6 separate regions of the Homo sapiens genome follow, and all the other regions are linked to region 5. The links are contacts of gene promoters, found by promoter capture Hi-C in blood cells and fetal thymus (Javierre and others, 2016). All regions are on one chromosome and are shown on one strand. Each heading gives the region's core, a stretch centred on a gene start or on the middle of the fragment in contact. The rest is flanking DNA. Distances are from core to core; before and after follow the strand shown. Region 1 has its middle 14 kb from the start of IBTK. Region 2 holds the start of TPBG (trophoblast glycoprotein). Region 3 overlaps IBTK (inhibitor of Bruton tyrosine kinase). Region 4 overlaps IBTK (inhibitor of Bruton tyrosine kinase). Region 5 holds the start of PRSS35 (serine protease 35). Region 6 has its middle 40 kb from the start of IBTK.

Region 1 (2,700 bases), core at 105-2,604, 1.3 Mb after region 5:
TGTTATATGGACATATACACAAACATACATTGACCCTCAGGACATTGTAAAATATTATCACATAACATCTTAGGTAGAAATAAGTAGGGATATTTATTCCATCCTTTATTCACATTAACATTTTAATTACTAAAAGTTGCTTCTGCATCCTCCCTGAACTATTGTGTGCTATCTATGTCCCTGCTTTATGCAAGTTCATTCGTCCGTTCTTTCTTTTCTTTTCTTTCTTTCTTTCTTTCTTTCTTTCTTTCTTTCTTTCTTTCTTTCTTTCTTTCTTTCCTTCTCTTTCTTTCTTTCTTTCTTTCTTTCTTTCTCTTTCTTTCTTTCTTTCTCTTTCTTTCTTTCTTTTTCTTCCTTCCTTCCTTCCTTCCTTCCTTTCTTCCTTCCTTCTTTTTTTTTTTCGACAGAGTCTCACTCTGTCACCTAGGCTGAAGTGCAGTGGGACAATCTGGGCACACTACAATCTTCACCTCCTGGGTTCAAGTGATTCTCTTTCCTCAACCTCCCAAGTAGCTGGGACTACAGGCATGGGCCACCATGCCCAGCTGTAAGTTATTTCTTAAGGTGAACTCAGATGTTATGTTTTTGTAAGTGTCTGCAATCATGGACAGGAATAAAATCACTTAGTTGAGAGTTTATATTAAAAAAAGTAAATAAATACAAAACTTGCTTATTACAGAAATGGAAATAAAGAAATCAGTTGTGTTTCCACCTGACAAAATTAATTTGCATGTTTGTGAATATGAGCTTGTTTGCACTGCTATCCATTATCTACAATTTGCAGAGTTGTAAAATATCTCAAAGACAATGAAAGGTGCAATGATCCCAGCTAAACCACCTAATTTTCTACTGAAGTCATCAGTAATCTTTTTGATGCATTTCAAAGTCTTTTATAGTTTTTCTCTACATTAGCAATCATGGAAAAAGTAGATTCCTTTCAGATGCTCCTATTTATCCCTCAGTTCTTTCACAAATAACTCCACTAGAAGCTTTCAATTAGCCGGGTGTGGTGGCAGGCACCTGTAATCCCAGCTACTTGGAAGTTTGAGGCAGGAGAATCCCTTGAACTTAGGAGGTAGACATTCCAGTGAGCTGAGGTTGCACCATTGCACTCCAGCCTGGGCAACAAGAGGGAAACTCCGTCTCAAAAAAAAAAAAAAAAAAAAAAAAGAAGAAGCTTTCCCTGATCCTTTCAACTGATTGTAATCTCTCTCTTTTTGTAGCTCCACAATCCCATTGTCTCTTTTATGACAGTGTCTCACTTTACTATCAGTGATACTTATGTATCTACCTTATTCTCCATACTAGATTTTAAATTGCTTTTCTTGAATCCTCTGCATTAGCTAACAGTGTCTACATATATAATATGCTCAATAGATATGTGTAATTGCATTTAATGTAATTCTTATATGCATTCAACTAGTCTTAATCAGCTTTGCTTATTATAGGTAGAGATAGCACCCTCCTGCAAAGTAAGATCTGAGGAGTGATCTTTATCTGAAACAGGTCTTAGTCAATTTAGGAAGCTTATTTTACCAAAGTTAAGAACACAGGCCCATGACACAGCTTCAGGAGGTCCTGATGACATGTGCCCAAGGTTGTTGGGGCACAGCTTGGTTTTGTACATTTTACAGAGATTACAATATGTAAGATGTACATTGGTTCTGTGTGGAAAGGCAGAATAACTCAAAGCGGGGAGGGGGCTTCCAGTTCATAGGTAGGAAAGAGACAAAGGGTTGCATTCTTTTGAGTTTCTGATTAGCCTTTCCAATGGAGGCAATCAGATATGCATTTATCTCAGTGAGCAGAGAGATGACTGAGTCCTCTCTGTCCTTTCTCTACAAGGAAATTTCTTGTGAGAGAGGTATGTAGCTTTTTATCTTAGTAGCTATCTTTTTTAGGAATAGAATGGGAGGCAGGTTTGCCCTAAGCAGTTCCCAGCTTGACTTTTTCCTTTGGCTTAGTGATTTGGCGAGGAGTGGGTGGGGGTGGAGGGTGTCCCAAAATTTATTTTCCTTTCACAGACTCATATTCCACAGCATTAATACAAATCAAAGAACTCCAGACAATGCTTGCTTTAGATCTGGCCTGTTCCCAAATCTCTCTCTCTTGAACTATGAGTGCCTGAAAACATTTCCAGTACTAGATTTACTAATGAATTTAGTGAATTAAGGCATCATCACTAAAAGGCAATTATGGTGCCTCACTACCCATTAGCTGCTATTAATAGAGCAGTATGGAGCAGTTTACCAGTTTGATAGGTCTCAAAAGAATGGTAAAGAAAAGGAAGTGAGTTTTTTTCCTTTCCTTTAAATAGGAAATGAGGAAGTAGAACACTTGTAGTTGGGGATGTGTTGGGTCTACATTTAATAAAGATAAACAGAAGTCCTTCATGGTCATCCTTATGAGAAGATTTTACTGGTATTTTCTCTAGTGCAATTAGAAGTTTAGAAAAAGATTTCCATGAAAAGTGTGAATAAAATATTTTAAAACCCTTTTAATGGATGCCTCTTATTTTTTGAAATACAGTTTAGATCGTGATCATCAGCTAATATTTATGGGTTGGCATTACATTGAAATATTTATGTTACTGGATGTGGAAACAGATTGGAGAAGTTTAAAACACTGTCTTTAAAACTGGCAATGATTGCTGTGGGACCCAGAAACAGTTGGCATCCTTGCATAAAAGACACTCGATGC
Region 2 (2,700 bases), core at 198-2,697, 1.1 Mb after region 5:
CATCTCATGCAGAGTTGTCCTTGGTCTGTCCTCTAATATTTCTCAGACATCCGAGTTAGAACTGAGGTTCGTTAATCTGGGGTCCGCATTGATTTCATATCTGTAATGATACCCTTCCATGTGATCCCTGCAGGCATCTCTGATGTTATGCATCCACTTTTTTATCCCCTTGCGGTTCAAATACAAAACCAGGAGGAAAATAGCGCCTATCAGGGCTAAAACAATACCCAGGAAGACATAAGAGGTTTGCAGGGATGGGGGAAGAATCGGGTCACAGTCCAGGTCAGCACTGTTGAGTTCCAAGAGGACCCGATTCCTCATTTTTTCCGGATATGCACAGGTGAGCCGGTCTTTGCCCTGCACTACCTCTGTTTCCTTGAGCCAGGTCACCATGTCTGCCATGTGGCAGTCGCAGACCCAGGGATTGTTGTCCAGGAAAACCCTAATGTGGGGTAGACCTTGCAACTCAGCCAGGGTGCCATTGTGAAGGACCTTGAGGGCATTGTCCTCCAGGTGGAGGCTTTCTAGATGTGTCAGGTTGCGGAAGGACACGTAGGTCAGGCTCACCAGCGAATTATTACTTAAGTCCAGGTGCCTGAGGCTGGGCAGTTGGGCCAGCACATCCCGCGGCAGGTAAAGGAAGTGGTTGCTGGCCAGCTCCAAGCGGCGGAGCCCCTGCAGTGCACGGCCCGCCAGCAGGGCCGCCACCACCATGCCCTCGAAGCTCCGGTTCTGCCGCTCATCTTCAGGGGGCACGATGTGGTTCAGGATCAGTTCCACAAGGGGACTGGGGGCCGAGACGCTGGCATTGCTGCCCGAGAAAGCGAAGGGACTGAGGTCGGCCAGTGGGTTGTGGCTGAGGTCGAGCTGGCGCAGGCTGGGCAGATGCTCGAAGGCGCCCGCGCGCACCTCGTCCAGGCGGCTGCCGCTGAGGTTGAGCGCGGCCAGCTCCGCCAGCGGCGGCCGGCGGGCGAAGGCGCCGGCAGGGAGCACGGCCAGCTGGTTGCCGGTAAGGAAGAGGTTGCGCACGTAGGCGGGCAGGTCCGTGGGCACCTCGGTCAGATTGCGGTTAACGCACTTGACTGTGCGCGCTGCCTCGGAGCACTCGCACAGCGCGGGGCACTGGTCCGGCAGCGGGGGCTGGGCGGACACGGCGGAAGCCAGGAACGGCGCCGAGGAGGAGAAGGAGGATGCCGAGGAGGTGGGAGAAGACGAGGAGACCCAGCCCAGGAGTACCAGCGCTAGTCGCGCCAGCCGCAGACGCCCGTCCCCGGCGGCGGGGCCCCGGGAGCACCCCCCAGGCATCGCGGCTCGCGTTTCCCCGGAGCTGGGCTGGGACGGCGCCCGCTCCGAAGGCTCGGGAGGCTGGGCCCGGAGGGCGCGAGCCGGCGGAAGCGTCTGGAAAAAAAAAACTTTCCTCTCGTGGAACCGAGGGAGTGGCGCCGCAGCCGGAACTTGGCTAACCCCCTCGCCACCGGGCGCTTCCCTCAGGGGCCGATTCCCCCGCCCCTTCCCTCCAGAAAGTACGCACGGCGGGTCGGGACGCTCCGCTCCGCGCTCCTGCTCCCGCTCCTCTTCCTGCCGCCGCCCTGGTGCCACCTCTTCGCCTCTTGTTGGCGCCCCTCGCTGGATCCTCTGAGGGACCTGGGACAAGCAGGAGAGAGGCGTGAACAGCGGTGGCTGCCGCGGCTTCCGGAGTGCAAAAACCGGCCTTTTCGAGTCTAGTCGTCTCCAGTCTGTCCCAGAGACCTCCTTCCAAAAGCCCGCCCCGGCCTCGCCTCCCCAACCCCTCCGGTCACTTTTACTCCGGAGGGGGACGCGCATCCGACACCCAGACCGCAAAGTCTTCCTTCTTCCCTGGCCCACACTAAATAAACCCGACCGGCCTCCCGCCCTCCGCCTTTCCCGAGGAGACTCGTCTCCCGCGTCTAACTTACCGCTTAATCCCCAATTCCTTCCCTACCAAACTTCTCCCTCTCCCGTTCCTTCCTGCACCGCCTCGGCGGAAGGTCGGCCTCCGGGTGTCTCCGCCCCCGCCCAGACCTCTCCACCAGGTCCCGGTTAGGATGCGAGGGAAGTTTCAGGTTACAGGACTTTTTGATCTCTTTTTGTACCTTCTCGCATTAGCAGGAAGTGGAGCTACAACTGTCGCCCCCCAGCCCGCGCCCCGCCAGCCCCTCGGATCTCAAAGGGGTTCAAGTCATCTCCAAAGAGGAGGGGAGAGTCTGGGAACAAAGCAGCAGTGGGACTCGGGGTACAGTGGCAACCCGAACCAACCCTACTCTCCACCCGAGGATGGGGAGGGGCCCCAACGACGCCTCCCGGGTCTCTCCCAGGCCGCGGGCTCCCACTGCTCACCTCCGCGTCCGCCGCCTCCAGAACCAACTCTGAGTTCCACCAGAGTAGCGACGACTTCCCGGCTCCGCGTTGCGGGCGCCGACTCTCTTCGCACCCCAGCCCCTGGCCCAACCTCCCAACCTCCGCAGCTGGGAAAAACCAACCCGGGGGGCGGGGGAGGGCCAGGACTGTCGGGGAGATTCCCGACGCGCGGCCAACCTCGGCAGCCGTAGGTAGGGGGATTTAAGAAGAGAGACTAGGGGAGCTGGGCTGCGCGCCTCCTCCTGGTGGAAATTAACGAGGAATGTGCCGGAAAAGGTGAGGGAATCCCTTTCTCTCCCCCCTCCCCGACATCCTTGGGTG
Region 3 (2,700 bases), core at 186-2,685, 1.3 Mb after region 5:
GGGAACTTAGGATAATGAAAGGACTTGTGATGGGCGAGAATCAAGCTTGGTGTCCAAGTCTTTAGTGAATGTGAGAGGGGTGAGCAAGATGGTGAGAAATCAGAGCAGGGGCAGCAAGTGTACAAGCTGCTCACCTAGTCTAGAGCTTTTTGCAGACATGCTAGTCAGTTTTTTTTTTCTCATGCTGAGCTTGAGTGGGTCCTCAGACTCCTCCTTAAAATGATAATCCAACCATTAGCAGCCACTAATGATTGATTGGAATTGTGGCACAAGAAAGACACCTGTTTTTCCTTTTTTGAGGTAGTACATGATATACCTTTATTTCATGAGCTGTTACGGAGCAGGGATTTTAAAGACAAGAGTGAGGGAATCATGATGGCATTAGGAAATCAGAGGGTGATTGAAATGTCTGATCCAAAGAAATATATAGTTTGGAATATTTGAGCATATTCCATTTGCCAGGGTTGTGAGTGAACTAGTGTACTCAAAGAGAAAGCCACATTTCAGGTAAGGCAAGGCAGTGGGCGTGTTTTGTGAAGGTATTAAGGATCTAAGGGATTTTATTTACCACAGAATGAGGGTGAAGCAAGCACAGTGGGTAGGTTTGAAGGAAAGAAATCAGTATAAATTTCAGTCAGGGAAGAGAAAGCAAGTATGGGAATATTAATTGAGTACCAGTTATATAGAGAGCCCCATTTGTTATTGAAAAGGGGCTGATTCTATATTATACAGTACCAAATTAATTAACTACCATGAGACAGAGATTATTAATGTTAGTATTATATATTCCAGATAATTAAAAGCGAAAATCCATGCTCAGTTCTTATTTAAAAATTCAGGGGTTTTAGGCTGGGCGCAGTGGCTCATACCTGTAATCCCAGCACTTTGGGAGGCTGAGGCGGGCAGATCACGAGGTCAGGAGATCGAGACCATCCTGGCTAACACAGTGAAACCCCATCTCTACCAAAAATATAAAAAATTAGCCAGGCGTGGTGGCGGGCACCTGTAGTCCCAGCTACTCGGGAGGCTGAGGCAGGAGAATAGCGTGAACCCGGGAGGCAGAGCTTGCAGTGAACCGAGATGGCGCCACTGCACTCCAGCCTGGGTGACAGAGCGAGACTCCGTCTCAAAAAAAAAAAAAAAGTCTGGGGTTTTTAAAGTTGGATAACTTAAAACTGTCTAGTATTGCAACTGTTGTTTAGTAGTAGAAGTCAGCAGTTGTAGGATGGCATTCTAATATTTAATATAAAATTGAATGAAATGTATTCTTTCTTATTTCATAAAATGAATTTCACTGACAACTTGTAAATTTAAAATACAAATTTGGATTTTATTTTTAAACTTTTTAGGTATTTGTGGTACAGCTAAATGAGATAATAATCTTTGCATTACTTTTTTTATTTGATAGCTATATTGTGCTTACAAAATTCCGAGCGGTCTAGGGTATGTGTAAATATTTAGAGCTTGTCTAGCTTATAATTTTTTTGTTTTCCAAAGGACCTTGACTTTCTGGAAATGATTTTAGGGTTTCTTTATTTCTTACTCATCTTTTTATATCCTAAGTTAGAAATATTTGCAGATGTTGTAAGAAATATAAATGCAAACAATCTTTAAAAATGAGAAGATTTTAAAAATATTATTAAGGTAAAGTGAGTATAATGAATATCAGAGCTTGGAAAATAGCAAAATGTGGCCCAGGGTTAGATATGTAAATATATATATATTTGAAACTGCTGATGGTTTCCTGTTATTGTGTTCTGCTGAGGCAGTTCAACTGTTTCAGTATCTTTGTCTTCTGTAGTATGTGAATAGTAAGTCTGTGTATCAGGGGCAAGGGAGTGTACTGAGATTGAGGCAGATAAGGAAAAAGGAAGTGGGAAAGGAGAGAAAAACTTGAAAATAAATATAAAATTATTTATTAAAATAATTATAAATGTATATTAAAGACATGTTGATAAAACCAAAGATAAAGAAAAGGACATACTGCCCCCTACGCCATGTATAAATGGCTTTATTGTTTTTTGAAAACACTCTGAAGATGTTTCTATTATTTTTATTAGTACCATATATCACTATTTGGTAATCTTTATGCTTCCTGTTGCACTTTGCTCATTTCTTACTGTTTGATATTTCATGAAACTGGAAAACAACTGGCTACTAATTTTTGGAATTGAAGGTTTAAAATTATATTTTCCTTTGGGTAATCTCTTCTGTGGGTAACACATGCTTAATTCTTTCTTTGTTCTTTTTTTTCGTGTCAATGTTTTTAGACATAATTTTAAAACAAAGCATATGTATCTTTTATTTTTATTACAGGAAACTTAAAATGTGGAAATTAAAGTCTTATAAATTCCCCTTGTATCCATTATCCTGTTTAAACAATTAACAATATTCTATTTCTTTTTCATAAAATAAAGGATATTTTATTCAGAGAAGTTTAATAATATTCTCTTGTTTTCCCTTAGGTGGTGCTTTGTAAATTTCACTCCGTGTTTCTGTCTCAGAAAGGGCAGGTTTATACCTGTGGTCATGGTCCTGGAGGGCGATTAGGACATGGAGATGAACAGACATGCTTGGTAATTGAAATGTCATTACACTATTTAGGTAACTTTAGAAAAATGCTGATAAGCTGAAAGATTTAATTAACTAAATTTTTTTTTCAACTGTAAGGACGAAATAATACATCAATTGATAATAGAT
Region 4 (2,700 bases), core at 15-2,514, 1.3 Mb after region 5:
GATAGATAATATGCCTAAAATTTATTTATGAAGCAATGAAAATAGGAATCAGGAGACCTAGTAAATGGGAAAGCTATTATCTTAGGACTTTTCTAAATTTAAAATTCTGTGACTCTGTGTTCTCTGTGTTGTATGAATTACCGTTAGTGTTTAGAAGGAGGCAGGGGTGGATTGATGGAAGGATGAATAATGGATAGACAGTCTTGAAAGTAATGACTTTCCAGTCACCTAAATGACTTATGGAAAAGCAGATATTTGGTTTGTTTTAAATAATGTTATTGTTACCATATGTGTTAGAATCTTAGAATTTCAGAGCTAGAAGAGACATTAGTAATGAAATAATTTATGTCCCTTACTTTAAACCTAAGGAAAGAAGCTCAAAAAACATAAGTGATTTGAAGTAGTGACCAAAAGAAATAAAATTTGTTCTCTTGATTCCAGGTCCGTATTTTCCTGGTGTACTGTTCTTTCTGTGGCCAGGATATCTGTAGTCAAAGATAACTAAAAGGTCAGATTTAATTGGAGGCCAAAAAGACCTGTTAAGGAAGAAAATTTGAGTATGAGGCCAATTTCATCAAAGACAGTTGCGTAAAAGCTTAACATCTGTGTCGATCTTAAAGTTAGACAAACGGCATTCAGCAAAACTGTTTTTGACCAGAAGTAATTGTTGGCCACATTAATTGTCCTCTTTTTTTCTGGATTTATTTCTAACTGACTTTTGAGAGTGTTCTAATATTAGATGTATTCTCTTCGATGAAAATTTGCCAGCCTTAAAAATATTCAAAAAGAGGCAAGACGCAGTGGCTCCTGCCTGTAATCCCAGCACTTTGGGAGGCCAAGGCGGGCGGACCACAAAATCAGGAGCTCCAGACCAGCCTGGCCAATATGGTGAAACGCTGTCTCTAGTAAAAATACAAAAAAAATTAGCCGGGCATGGTGGTGCATGCCTGTAATCCTAGCTACTTGGAAGGCTGAGGCAGGAGAAACACTTGAACCTGGAGGTGGAGGTTGCAGTGAGCTGAGATCATGCCACCGCACTCCAGCCTGGGCAATAGAGTAAGACTCTGTCTCAAAAAAAAAAAAAAATTCAAAAAGATTGTGTGGCAAAAAAAATGTTTAAATGTTCTTTCCAAATTGTAGTGATAACAATAAAAGAAACATTTAGCTTGTTAAGGTGATTTACTTTAAAGAGAACAATGTATAAGAGATGGTAGGTTTTATTTTTAAATCAATTATACAGCTTTTAGTTACAAGTTAGATAACATCTTTATTTTATAGCTTATTTTGGTACTTCATTTAGATTCTAATAAATTTGAAATGTGTGGAAATGGACATGTGAATCTAAGCAAAAGTTTGAACCTGGATACCAGGTGTGGCATGAGGCCAGGCATTTAGCTTGCCTAAGAGAAGAAATGATATATACATTTCACAACAACCCTCTTGCTTCAAGCGAGCTCTCAATAGCCAGAGATTTCAGGGAAAAACACACTTCAAACAGGCCACAGTTGTCTTCTGCGGGAGCCTCTGCTATGGGGTCAGTCAGCTGGCTAAGTGAGAGGCAAAAAGGCCACAGGGTTCCTCCCACATAGAATGAAGCTACCCCCTTGCTTGGGTGCGGAGACCACTGTACCAAGAGACAGATGAGAAAGGGAAAAGAGGTCTGGATTTTAATTATTTTCCCTTTCTCCTTTGTCTCTTATGCGGACAAAAATATTTTAAATCACTTTTTAGAGCAGATCCCAAAGAACTATCTTCCTCAGGTTCATTACACAATTGGTGTGTGATTGTAATGAATAAAATTATTGTTTTAGAATCTCTTCCATTTCAGTTTTTCACTTAAACTGATTTCTTTCTCCAGTTAACTTGAATTATTAAGATTTTTATACCATAAATATAATTTGAATGTTATTAAATCTGGATAAATGAAAGCTTTTTTAGCTCTCTGGTTCATGGAATGTAATGCATATATGTTTAATGCATATGTGTTTAATTTTTTTTAATTTCATGTTTTAGGATTATTAAAGTCTGGTAAGACCAATTCTGTGGAATCTCTTCCAGAACTGTTGACATCAGACTCTGAAGGAAGCTATGCAGGAGTGGGTAGTCCTAGAGATTTACAGTCCCCTGATTTCACAACAGGATTTCATTCAGATAAGATTGAGGTTTGTTTTTTGAAGCACTACCTCCTTACCTTCAGATTTTAGATTTATAGATGGTTTATCTTTAATATTTCCTTATTTTTGCCCTAATTTTAAAACAGTTTCCAGGTTGGTATATAAGAATCACAAATATAGTGTTAGTTTTCTTAAATTTGCACAACATTTCTATTTTTAGAGATTGTAATGGCAGTTTTGAGCCCTTTATGATGTTATTTCTAGTCTTTGTGCAACTAAAATATAATGTTGATGTAAAATATAATAACACTATAGACATGTTGAAAAAATATATTTGTAGCTAAATTATTGAAATTTATCTTGTGAAATGTCAGTTAACATCAGTTAAAAATTGTCAAGGCAAATGATTTCGAAAATAAGCCTACTTTGAAAGTTCGCAGTCTCTTTCCTCCAGGGTATTAACTGGAGCAAAACAATTTGGAAATGATTTGAGTTCTTCTCCTAATCTAGCACATTAAGCTGCAGGATTCCTAGCCTAATCAGCTCTGGGGAGGGCATTTCTTAGACACTCCTTAACATTTGATTC
Region 5 (2,700 bases), core at 161-2,660:
ATCCTACTGTTAAAATGCAATATGCTTGTTTGATATTTGAGCATTGGGCAGAGGAAAATCATTTACCCAATGGAGAAAATTAACTCACACTAGCAATTGCTTATTTTAACATCTAATGAACACATACTGTATGCCAAGTATATGCTAAACAGTCTCACATTTTAAAACGTGAAAAAGCTTCTTAAAAGCATGCAGTTTTCCCAGCTATCTGGAAGAAAAATGGGGTACAGTATCCACATCTACCACTTCCCTCACTAAAGGAACTCCTCTAATATTTCCTAATAAAAATAAAATTCCATATGATACTTGGCCTCTACCTTCAAGCCTACATGTCTTATTTGGCAGGGATTTTAACATTCTCTCTTCTAAATTATAAACCAGATTCTAAGTATAATTCTCCAGCCAGCAAAATATGACTTTTATAATCCTCTGTGGAGACAAATGTACTTCGGATAAAATAAGAATGAATTTCAGAAGTCAGAAGGGTTAATAAGGGGTGAAAGCCCCCTAGACACAGCAAGCAGCTTCTTTTCAAATCAAGGACAGTGTAAAAATGTCAGAGCAATCAAGCGGGAGTGTTTCTACAACTTTTTAAAAAACCTTTTATTATAGAAAATTTCAAGACTACACAAAAGCACAGAGAAAAGTATTAAGTTGAGAGAAAAGTACAACCCCCATGTGCACATCACCAGCTTCAACTATTGTCAATATTTTGCCAATGTTTCATCCACCATCACCACCCCACACACTTTTTTTTTTCAGCTAGAGTATTTCAAAGCAAGTCAAAAGCTTTTCTACTTCATTTCGCCGCCTCATTTTCTAAACGTTTTCCTATGCTCCTTTTGCTGACCTCCGCAGCCAAGTTGATAAAAGGGTAGAGGGGAGAGGCTAGCTTTCATAGTAACCCCGCCAAAGAGACTTTTCAGGAATGCGTTTCATACCTTTCTCAATGGCATCTGTTAACAATCATAAAAATAAAGAGGGTCCCCTCTGGTACTGCTTAAGCAGAAAGAATTCCATTTATATTCCAATGCAAACATTGTTGTCGTTAATATTAAACTGTGCAGAGGCCGGCACACAGAATTGCCTATGGGAAGGGTGGTTAGTTTCTTTGAGGACTGAAAGAAAGTGTCAAGTTTGATCCCTTTCTTCAAAGTCCTTCAAAGAAGCTCTCCTCGGGTAGGTCCTGCCTTTCTCAGGGAAATTTCTAAGTTCTAAGGTTGTTGGGTTTGGGGAGCTTCATCTTTACCTGCCAGGCTTGTTTGGTCCCCGAGGGCACTGTCAGCTGAGATCAGAGCTCCCGAGGAGGCGGGCGGGGACGCTGCAGCTGGGAGCCTCTCAGCCAGCCTGAGCCGGAGGCCGCCCCGCCAAGGCCGGGCCACAGCACCCAGAGCTCGCCACTGAGACTGCGGAGGGGGAGAGAGCTGCGCCGCACCACGGCCGGGAGATGGGAGGGGAAAGGGGGCGATGACGAGGGGCGGGCGCGGTGGGATGGAGTGGGGGGAGGGGAGGAGGAGGAGGTGGGCAAGAGGAGACGGAGAGGGAGGGCGGAGAGGGGAGTTCCCTGGAGGAACGGGGCGGACCTGGCCGTGTCTCACCCCAGCATTTCTGCCCCCAAGCTGAATTAAGCATTAGGAAAAATTCATGAGTAGGTTCACAGGGGATGCCTGTCCCTGTAATAGTATGCACTCCTTTAACAGTCTCAGGAGTTGTTCAGTTAAGAGTCTCATTCCTCACTGCTTGCTGTTGAGACCCCAGGCATCTAGAAGAACGGAGGGCGTCTCCCCAACCTTATCCCAAGCTAGTCTCCACCGGGGACCTAGCTTCTCTGGATGCACAAGCCTCAGGGTTACCCCGACTTGTACCAGGCGCCCAGGCTGCACACGAGGATGGGGACCTCAGGCTGGGACGCCTGGACCCCCGGGAGCATCCTGCGCTGCCTCCAGGGGGAGCGCGTCAGTTTCCGTCTGCAGGGAAAAGGCTGGTTTTCCTCTTTGGGCGAGTAACCTTTAAGGTCCTTTCCCATCTCAGTCCCACCAGCATTCTAACCTCATCCGTTCTCTCGACCTTTTATTCTCCTTTAGGAGAGGGGTGGGGGCCACATGAGAAAGGAAGCTTCATTTGTTTAACAACAAATTCTAGTGGGTGACAGGTCTGGGGCAAGATGAACTGATACAACGAGAGAATACATAAACAAAAACAAAAACAAAAACAAAAAAACTCGGTCCTGGCCCTAAAGCAGGGAGATCGAGTAAGTGCACAAGTACTTACAACACAAGGTCTTAGCATGTCTTGTAACACTTGGTTCGTTAGTAGGTTATTGCGTATCTCAAGTTCTGTGTACTTTTAATGAGATTATAACATACTTAGCATTGTCCCTCGTTATACTCAACGGACTAGTTCCAGGCCCTCTTCCCCTCCGCCCCCCCATACTAAAATCATCCCATATTCAAGTCCAAGTCCAGCTGTGGGCCCTGGGGAACCCGCGTATAGGAAAAGTCTGCCCTCTGTTTAAGCATTTCTGCCTGAAAATACTGTTTTCTATCCGCTTTTGGGTGAAAAAAAAAATCTGTGTATAAGTGGACCTGTGCAGTTCAAATATGTGTCCAAGGGCCAACTATATATACAATTTCATTGCTGTTTTCTCATTTAGCATTGTTAACATAAGCATTTACCCATATATTAAAATCTATTGGTAAT
Region 6 (2,700 bases), core at 188-2,687, 1.2 Mb after region 5:
AGGTGTGGTGCTGGGCACCTGTAATCCCAGCTACTCAGGAGGCAGAGGCAGGAGAATTGCTTGAACTCGGGAGGTGGAGGTTGCAGTTAGCCGAGATCACGCCGTTGCACTTCAGCCTGGGCAACAAGAGCAAAACTTTTTCTCAAAAAAAAAAAAAAGAAAAAACTCAGTGGTGATTAATTTCATGTAATATTATTCACTGCTGTAATCCCCTCCTTGCTCTTCCCCTGCCTCAGAACCAAGAAATATTTGAATCCAATACAAGGATTCTTGCTATAGACTTATATTAAAAGGTTTAATTAACAGAAAATCCTGCACCAAATACAATCAAACACAGAGATTGCTCTCCATCAAGATCTCAGGGATTCCTGAGCAACCTCTGTCTATAGAGTCCATTCACTTTAATCAGAATCACTGACACATTGTCTTGCTGAGAAGCTGTGACAGACTTTAGTTTGCATTCACTTTTTTTTTTTTTTAATTTTATTTTAAGTTCTGGGATACAAGTGCAGAACGTGAAGGTTTGTTACATACATATACGGGTACCATGGTGGTTTGCTGCACCTATCAACCCATCATCTAGGTTTTAAGCCCCTCATGCATTAGCTATTTGTCCTAATGCTCTCCTTCCCCTCACCCCCCACCCCCTGACTGTCCCTGGTGTGTGTTTTTCCCCTCCCTGTGTCCATGTGTCCTCATTATTCAACTTCCACTTATGAGTGAGAACATGCGGTGTTTGGTTTTCTGTTTCTGTGTTAGTTTTCTGAAGATGATGTTTCCAGCTTCATCCATGTCCCCGCAAAGGACATGATCTCAATCCTTTTTATGGCTGCATAGTATGGTATTCCATGGTGTATATGTGCCACATTTTCTTTATCCAGTCTACCACTGATGGGCATTTGGTTGGTTCCATGTCTTTGCTATTGTAAACAGTGGTGCCGTAAACATATGTGTGCATGTGTCTTTATAGTAGAATGATTTATATTCCTTTAAGTATATACCCAGTAATGGGATTGCTGGGTAAAATGGTATTTCTGGTTCTAGATCCTTGAGGAATGGCCACACTGTCTTCCACAATAGTTGAACTAATTTACATTCTCACCAACAGTGTAAAAGTGTTCCTATTTCTCCACAGCCCCTCCAGCATCTATTGTTTCTTGACTTTTTAATAATTGCCATTCTGACTGGCATGAGATGGTATCTCATTGTGGTGTTGATTTGCATTTCTCTAATGATCAGTGATGTTGAGCTTTTTTTTGTATATTTGTTGGCCACATAAATGTTGCAATCACTTTTATATTCAAGTTTCTAGGACTTTTTGGAACTCTCCTTCATGTAATGAATTTTGAAAGTAACCAAGACTTTCCCTTTAGCTCTTAGCCTATGGAATCATCTTCTCTACTCTCTAGAAGCCCTTGCTTAACTTCACTGAGTGTTATCTATTATTCACTTATCACCTTCTGGGAAGCCATTGAACAAAGAAAAACCTGGAGAGTCATGAGAACTCTCTGCTGTTTGTAGGAGGAGAGAACTTAAATTCTTTGCTAATGATCACCATCTTATTTCTATTATAATTTTCTTATCTTGGGCAGAATAATGTTTCCTCTCTACTCTATCATCCAGTGGACTTACTACTACCACTTTTCTCATTCTTCCAATGCTTTTTTACAATATATCCCTGCATGACAGTCTCATTTTGGGAGATGTGTTAAACCATGCACAAATGGGAAGAAAAAACCTAGCGCCAATAATAATAACCTGATGTTAGTGAAGAAAGAAAGTTATACAATCCAGTCAATGTTGAATATCAATGGGGCACAAATGAATTGACCAACAACCAATCTCTGTTCTCAGCTTTCCTGGGGAGATTTCTGTCTTTGCTGTTTTCATTGAATCCTCATTTGTTTTCTTACCTTTCAGGCAGCCATTTTACTTCACTGGCCTAATATAATCAGTTCTTATCTGTGGGTTCCATATCCCTGGATTCAATCAACTGGAGACAGAAAACATATAAAAACAAATAAATACATAAATAATGACAATATGGGCTGGGTGCGGTGGCTCACACCTGAAATCCCAACACTTTGGGAGGCCAAGGTGACCAAATCACCTGAGGTCAGGAGTTCAAGACCAGCCTGGCCAACATGGTGAAACCCCATCTCTACAAAAATACAAAAATTAGCTGGATATGGTGGCAGGTGCCTGTAACCCCAGCTACTCTGGAGGCTGAGGCAGGAGAATCACTTGAATCTGGGAGGCAGTGGTTGACTGAGCCAAGATCGTGCCTTTGCACCCCAGCCTGAGCAACAGAGCGAGACTCCGTCTCAAAAAAAATAAGTATAAATAAATAAATAAATAAAATAGGCCAGGTGCGGTGGCTCACACCTGTAATCCCAGCACTTTGGGAGGCCGAGGCAAGCTGATCATGAAATCAGGAGTTTGAGACCAGCCTGACCAACATAGTGAAACTCTGTCTCTACTAAAAATACAAAAAAATTAGCCGGGCATGGTGGCGGGCACCTGTAATACCAGCTACTTGGGAGACTGAGGCAAGGAGAATGGCTTGAACCTGGGAGGCGGAGGTTGCAGTGAGCTAAGATCGCGCCACTGCACTCCAGCCCAGGTGACAGTGTGAGACTCCATCTCAAAAAAATAAATAAAAATAAAACAATAATAACACAACAATAAAAACAATACTGA

Evidence for each region. Contacts are between HindIII fragments. The CHiCAGO score rates a contact against its expected background, and 5 or more counts as called.
Region 1: a contact is called between a fragment that was not itself captured here and the fragment with the promoter of PRSS35 in region 5, in 8 of 17 cell types (naive B cells, total B cells, total CD4 T cells and 5 more). The highest score is 9.6, in naive B cells.
Region 2: a fragment that was not itself captured here is called in contact with the fragment with the promoter of PRSS35 in region 5 in 1 of 17 cell types (endothelial precursors); the score reaches 6.2 in endothelial precursors.
Region 3: a contact is called between a fragment that was not itself captured here and the fragment with the promoter of PRSS35 in region 5, in 1 of 17 cell types (M0 macrophages). The highest score is 7.3, in M0 macrophages.
Region 4: a fragment that was not itself captured here is called in contact with the fragment with the promoter of PRSS35 in region 5 in 1 of 17 cell types (M0 macrophages); the score reaches 5.8 in M0 macrophages.
Region 6: a fragment that was not itself captured here is called in contact with the fragment with the promoter of PRSS35 in region 5 in 1 of 17 cell types (naive B cells); the score reaches 5.6 in naive B cells.

The regions. Positions count from the first base shown.
Region 1 is chr6:82,260,672-82,263,371 of GRCh38, reverse strand. No RefSeq gene overlaps it. Among named protein-coding and RNA genes, the nearest start is that of IBTK, 14 kb to the right of the region's middle. The HindIII fragment of the contact is 349 bases long and covers 1,180-1,528 here.
Region 2 is chr6:82,363,567-82,366,266 of GRCh38, reverse strand. TPBG (trophoblast glycoprotein) reads right to left here and starts at 2,450. Exons shown (of 2, transcript NM_001376922.1): 1 at 2,359-2,450; 2 at 1-1,644. The coding sequence starts at 1,305. The coding sequence ends at 43. LOC105377875 (a long non-coding RNA gene) reads left to right here and starts at 2,610. Exons shown (of 3, transcript XR_942738.4): 1 at 2,610-2,655. RefSeq lists enhancers at 36-937, 938-1,840, 1,992-2,503, 2,504-2,700 and a silencer at 890-969. The HindIII fragment of the contact is 2,910 bases long and covers 1-2,700 here.
Region 3 is chr6:82,227,068-82,229,767 of GRCh38, reverse strand. It overlaps IBTK (inhibitor of Bruton tyrosine kinase), which reads left to right. Exons shown (of 29, transcript NM_015525.4): 5 at 2,466-2,576. Among named protein-coding and RNA genes, the nearest start is that of IBTK, 19 kb to the left of the region's middle. RefSeq lists a silencer at 1,699-1,899. The HindIII fragment of the contact is 2,775 bases long and covers 48-2,700 here.
Region 4 is chr6:82,195,760-82,198,459 of GRCh38, reverse strand. It overlaps IBTK (inhibitor of Bruton tyrosine kinase), which reads left to right. Exons shown (of 29, transcript NM_015525.4): 22 at 2,014-2,162. Among named protein-coding and RNA genes, the nearest start is that of IBTK, 51 kb to the left of the region's middle. The HindIII fragment of the contact is 1,334 bases long and covers 598-1,931 here.
Region 5 is chr6:83,511,244-83,513,943 of GRCh38, reverse strand. It overlaps PRSS35 (serine protease 35), which reads right to left and starts at 1,410. Exons shown (of 2, transcript NM_153362.3): 1 at 1,250-1,410. The HindIII fragment of the contact is 1,326 bases long and covers 792-2,117 here.
Region 6 is chr6:82,286,891-82,289,590 of GRCh38, reverse strand. No RefSeq gene overlaps it. Among named protein-coding and RNA genes, the nearest start is that of IBTK, 40 kb to the right of the region's middle. RefSeq lists a silencer at 1-164. The HindIII fragment of the contact is 8,846 bases long and covers 1-2,700 here.